Linked DNA regions of Homo sapiens: region 2 is linked to region 1. The links are contacts of gene promoters, found by promoter capture Hi-C in human tissues and cell types (Jung and others, 2019). All regions are on one chromosome and are shown on one strand. Each heading gives the region's core, a stretch centred on a gene start or on the middle of the fragment in contact. The rest is flanking DNA. Distances are from core to core; before and after follow the strand shown.

Region 1 (2,975 bases), core at 309-2,808:
AGTGAAAAGTATTTGTTGAATATAACTTTAAGTTTTCTTAAAGTTATATTTTTTGTGGAAACTAAATTTTTATTGATTTGTTACTGGAGAATGTGAAGTAATCACTGGGGTTTTTGCATTTTAGAATCAGTCAGTGGAGTACTGCATTTGACATTCTTGGACTCTCAGGACTAGTTACATGCAATTATGCATACAATTGTCTCTCCACCCTGCCCCAGAGAAAGATCTGAAAGTGCTCTCTTACCTATCTCATCTCCTTTAGGCATTTGCTTAAATACCACCTTCTCCGTGCTACCTTCCCAGATCACTCTATTTAGGACTGAAGCCATTCCTCCAACACCTCTGCTTATATTTTTTTCCCATAGCACACATACCAGCATGTAATATAGTTTTTGTTTTACGTATTCTTTTGCATATTATCTTTCCCATCCTGCTAGAATGTAAGCTCCATGAAGGCAGGAGTTTTTGTCTCTATTTTGTCCACTGATGTCTCCCCATATCAAGAATAGTGTTTGGGGCCGGGCGTGGTGGCTCACGCCTGTAATCCCACCACTTTGGGAGGCCCAGGCGGGAGGATCTCTTGAGTCCAGGAGTTCCAAACCAGCCTGGGAAACATGGCGAAACAGCCGGGTGTGGTGGCGCGGGCCTGTAGTCCCAGCTACTCGGGAGGCTGTGGTGGTAGGATCACCTGAGACTGGGAAGTCAGGGCTCCAATGAGCCGTGATCCTGCCACCGCACTCCAGCCTCGGTGAGAGCAAGACCCCGTCTCAAAAACAAACAAAGTGGCATATAGAAGATCTATAAGATTTGACTGGAGTAAAATGAGAAAGATCTAATCGTTTTAATGCGCTGTTCACACGGGGTTTTTAACTTCGGCACGAACGAATGAACAAAATCTTTTCATATGGAACCAAGTGTACGGGTATTTGGGGTGTGTGCAGTTTCCGCGGGACAGAATGACCTGTCCTGGTTTGGGTATTAACTTGCCTTGATATTGAAGAACCTCCACATTCCCAGTGGTCTCTAACTCATTGTCTGAATAATTTCAAGGTGTCCCACAGTTGGCCCCACGCATAGCCTCAATCACGATCACTCGCCCCCCTGTCCCTTATTGATGCTCCCCCAGGGCGACCCCGCAAAGGCCTGGGGACCGAATGGAACTGCCCCAGTCCCCCTCCTTCCAAGAGAGCTGGGGTTTTCTGGCTTCGGGGTCAGTTGGAAAAGAGATTCCCACCCAAGTCGCAGGGTGGGAGTAGGGGGGATGAGATAGGAGTGATGAAGGAAGTGTGTCTAAAATTCTAGGCCTCAGGCCCGCAGCTGTCCCTGGAGGCGGCGGGGAAGCGGGGTGGTCGGGTCCTGCGGAGGGCTCCCAGGGAGGCCACAGGGGGAACCAAGGGGCGGTGGCTGAGTGCACGAGTCCCGCCCCTCCATCTGTTGGCCCCCTACTCTCAAAGGGAAGCCTGGGGGCGGGGTTTGTTTACTCCGTGCACGCACTGCCGGCCCGGCCAATCCGTGGGGAGCGGCGCCAGGCGTCGCACATTCTGAGGGCCAATCGGCGCGCACTGTGCTGCTCCGCCGCCAAAGCTCGCGCGGGGGAAGCGGGGCTGTAGCTGGGCAGGGAGAGGGCGGACGAAATCGGTAGCGATCTCGGCTGCGGCGCTGCCGCAGCTGCCCGGCCCGCGGGGCGCGCCCTGACCCTTCATCTTTGGGCAGGCTCGAGGGCGCGCGCACGGTTGGCGTTCTGGGGCCTCAAACTCCTGGGCCTTGACCGGGCAGGCCGCGTCTCCCCGGGTGTGAGTCCACCGGGACCCGGCCGCCGCCTAAGCGCGGGCGCCACAGAAGCGGCGGCGCCCGAAGACGCGCTCCTGGCTCGGCCCGACAGCCTCGCTTGGCCGCCAGTTCTTCTGCAGCCGAAGGCGGTAAGGTCTGGGGCGAGGGCGCGGGCCCGCGCGCGGAGGGCCTTTGGACCCGGCCGGGCGCGTTCCTGGGTAGGTTTCCCTCCCTGCGCACAGGGGCCCCCTTGTTCCCCCACGAGTCCCATCTGTTTAGACCTGGGTTCTCCAGGCCTGGCCGGGTAACCCGTGAGTGTCTGGGCCAGAGTCGAAAGCAGAGGAGGGTCACCCTCTTAGTGCATAGAGCAAATCGGGGGAGGTAACGTCCCTGAGTCACGCCTCGTGGAAGAGGGGAAGGGCTGCTTTCTACTTTCTCGTTCTCTTCAAAGAAGGATGGCTTCTAAATCTGGTTTTCCGATTTTTCCCTTCTCCTTTCATGACTCACAGGCCTCTGTGTCCACCAGGTGTTTTGTTTGTTTTTAAAGAGTTTCTAAGCTTTGTGTGCTTGGAAGAACCTCATATGCCCCATAAAGGAACTTTTCTCTGAAGTAGAGGATCGCTTTTTGGGCCCAGACTCCTTTGAGAAAATCTGGAAAGCCAAGGTCTGTCTTCACAAAGAAGTGTAAGGGTTTTCCTAGGATCTCGCTGAGAGACAGTACAACGAAGTGGATGAGCGCCCCAGTCTCTCTTACCAGCCTGTGCTATCTCCCATTGTGTGATCTCGGTTTCTTCATCTGTAAATTAGATGCATCCACCTATTCGGTGTGTTTCGGGGAGTGAATGGACTAATGTATGGAATGCAATCGTAAGAAAATCCTCCACGTATTAAATGCCTTGCATTAGTTAGGCACTTTTATTATTGACTGCCATGGATGCTGGTTTAGAAAAAGACCCTATATTATTTCCCTTTTAGTGTTGAGACAGTGAACGGGCTCATTCCTTTTCCATATTCACTGCTGAAGCTGCCTTTGAGCCCATGAATACTTTTATCTTTTCCTCATTCCATCTCAGAGGGCACAGACTCCCTCTCACTTATTTGCTTTCTTTCAGTAAGGCTCTCTTTTAGCTCAGCCTTCTCCTTCCCCTGTCTCCCCGAGATCTGAGTTTTGTGTCTTTTCATTTGACTTGCACAACCTACTTTTT
Region 2 (2,961 bases), core at 367-2,866, 550 kb after region 1:
ATTCACCAGCTGATAGACATTTAGGTTGCTTCTAGTTTTTGGCTATTGTGAATAACGCTGCTCTGAACATTCACTCCGATTCTTTGTGTGGGCATATGTTTTCATTTCTTTTGGGGTAGGTAACCAACAGTGGAATTGCTAGGTTACATGTATAGTAGTTTTATGTTTAACTTTCTGAGAACTGCCCAGTTGCTGACTGTCAAAGCCCCTATTTTACATTCCCACTGGAAATGTATGAGGGTTTCTGTTTCTCCACATTCTCAACAACATTTGGTATTGTCTGTCTTATTTGTTACAGACACTCTAGTTGGTGTGAAATGGTATCTCATTGTGGTTTTAATTTGCATTTCCCTAATAATGATGTTGAGCATCTTTTCATATGCTTATTATCCACTTGTATAATCTCTTTGATAAAATGTTTGTTCATATCTATCGTCCTCTTTTTAAATTGGGTTTTTGAAAATTCTAGATACAAGTATATTAGATAAGCGTTTTGCAAATATATTCTTCCAGTCTGTTGCTTACCTTTTCATTTTCTTAATGGTCCTCTTTTGAAATGTTTTTGAATTTTGATGAGATCCAATTTATCAAATATTTTCTTTTATAGACCATACATTTAGTTATGTAAGAAATCTTTGCCTAACCTATAAAGGCTCAAAGATTTTCTTTACTTGTTAATAACAATCAATTTCCCTTTACATACTGTTTTAGCTGTATCCCACAAACTTTGATATATTTGTTGCATTTTCATTATCATTTAAGTTAAAAATATTTTTGAGTTTCCTTGTGAATTCTTCAATCTATAGGTTACTTAGAAGTATTTTATTTAATTTCCAAATATTTGGGGCTCTTCCAGGTATCATATTGTCATTAATTCTGTTGTGATCAGAGAACATACTTTGTAAAAAGTCAATCTTTTGATATTTACTGAGACTCCAGGCCCAGCATATGGCGGCCTATTTTACTGAATGTTCCAATGCACATTTCAAAAGAATATGTATTCTGCACCTGTTTGGCCTAGTGTCCCATAAATGTAAATTAGATCAAGGTGACTGATAGTATTATTTCAAACTTCTGTAAGAAAACTGGTTCTTGTGCTCAGCTCCTCTAACAATTGCTGAGAGAAGACTATTAAAATATTCAAGTACAGGCCAGGTGCAGTGGCTCATACCTGTTAATTCTAGGCCGAGGCAGGAGGATCACTTGGGTCCAGGAGTTTGAGACCACCCTGGGCAACAAAGTGAGACCTTGCAGCTACAAAAAATCAGAAAATCAGCCAGATGTGGTGGCGTCCACCTGTGGTCCCAGGTACACAGAAGGCAGAGGCAGGAGGATCTCTTGAGCCCAGGAGGTCAAGGCTGCAGTGAGCTATGTCTGTGCACTCCAGCTTGGGAGACAGAGCAAGACCCTGTCTCAAAAAAAGAAAAAAGAAAAAGAAAAAAGAAAAAAAGAAAAAAAAATTCAACTAGAATTGTAGATGTCCTATTTCAATTCTGTTTTTTTCTCCAACTACATTGAAGTTGTAATTAGGTATGTACACATTTAGGATTATGTGCTCCTTCTGCCATTATAAAATGTGCCCAAACATATTTGGTAAAAGTTGTTTTGACATCTACTTGGTCTGGGATTACTGCTTACTGTTTACATCATCTTTCTCCACCCAATTACTTTCAACCTATCTGTGCTTTTATAATATATTTAACGTGGATATATTGTAGAAAGTATATTATTGGATCTTGCTTTTTAAAATATAGTCTGATAGTCTCTTTCAATGTATTGTAGTTCATTTACATTTACTGTAATTATTGATATGGCTGGGTTTAAGCTATCATTTTGTTATACGTTTTCTGTCTGTCTCATCTGATTTTTGCTCCTCTGTTCTTCCCTTCCTCACATTTTAATTTATTTATTGTTTGGGAGGAGGAGAGGGGATGGATTAGTTATGTCAAGTATTTCCCTAAATTTTTGTTCTAGATATTATAATATACAGCCTTAACTCATCACAGTCTACTTAAAATTATTCTTGCATCACTTCACATAAAATATAAGACCCTTGGAATAATTTACTCCACCCCCTTCCTTTGTGCTGTTACTGTCATATATTTCATATCCAGATATGTTATAAACCCTATAATTAAATGTTATACATTTTGCATCGAACAGTTGCTTTTTAAAGAAATGGAGAAAAAAAAAACAGGCATTCTTACATTTACCCACATATTTACCATTTCCAGTGCTCTTTACTCCTTGTAGATCTAAGTTTCCATCTGGTATTATTTCCTTTCAGCCTGAAGAATTTCCTTTAGCATTTCTTATAGTGCAGGCTTGCTCACAATGGAGTCTCTCTCAGCTTTCATTTATTTAAAATATATTTTCATTTTCAAAGAAAATTTTCTCTAGAATGTTAGGTTGAGACTTTTGTTCCTTTAGCATTTTAAACAGGTCATTCCACTGTCCTCCAGTTTTAGTTGCTTTTTATGAGGAGTTGGCTGTCAACTGTACTGTTGTTCCCCTGTGTATGTATCTTGTCTTTTGTTTCTCTGCTTGCAAGATTTTCTCTTTATCTCTGGTTTGACTATTTTATGTCTAAGTGCGGTTTCCTTTGCGTTTATCATGCTTGCAGTTCATTGAGCTTCTCAGATCTATAAGATACTGTTTCACCAAATTTGGGAAATTTTAGGCCATTATTTCTTCAAAAAAAAATTTTTTTTTTTGTCCAATTCTTTCTCTACTCTCCTTCTAGGACACCAACCATGCATATGTTAGACTACCTGATATTGTACTAAAGGGTCACTGAGGTTTTGTTCATTTCCCCCAAGTCTTTTCTGTGTTCTAGATTGGTTCATTTCTACTGATCGATCTTCAAGTTCAGTGAACCAATCTGTTGTTAAGCCCATCAGATTTTTGATGTCAGGTATCGTGCTTTTCAATTCTAGAATTTCCATTTGATTCCCTTTTTAT

The links. Contacts are between HindIII fragments. The study calls those that stand out against the background at their distance.
Region 2: a contact is called between a fragment that was not itself captured here and the fragment with the promoter of TFDP2 in region 1, in 2 of the 25 tissues and cell types used here (heart right ventricle and thymus).

Annotation. Positions count from the first base shown.
Region 1 is chr3:142,148,127-142,151,101 of GRCh38, reverse strand. TFDP2 (transcription factor Dp-2) reads left to right here and starts at 1,558. Exons shown (of 13, transcript NM_001178139.2): 1 at 1,558-1,919. RefSeq lists silencers at 1,283-1,332, 1,443-1,652, 1,713-1,782, 2,013-2,062 and an enhancer at 1,413-1,913. The HindIII fragment of the contact is 11,710 bases long and covers 1-2,975 here.
Region 2 is chr3:141,594,107-141,597,067 of GRCh38, reverse strand. The region is part of intron 19 of RASA2 (RAS p21 protein activator 2); the gene reads right to left. Among named protein-coding and RNA genes, the nearest start is that of RASA2-IT1, 70 kb to the right of the region's middle. The HindIII fragment of the contact is 4,526 bases long and covers 1-2,961 here.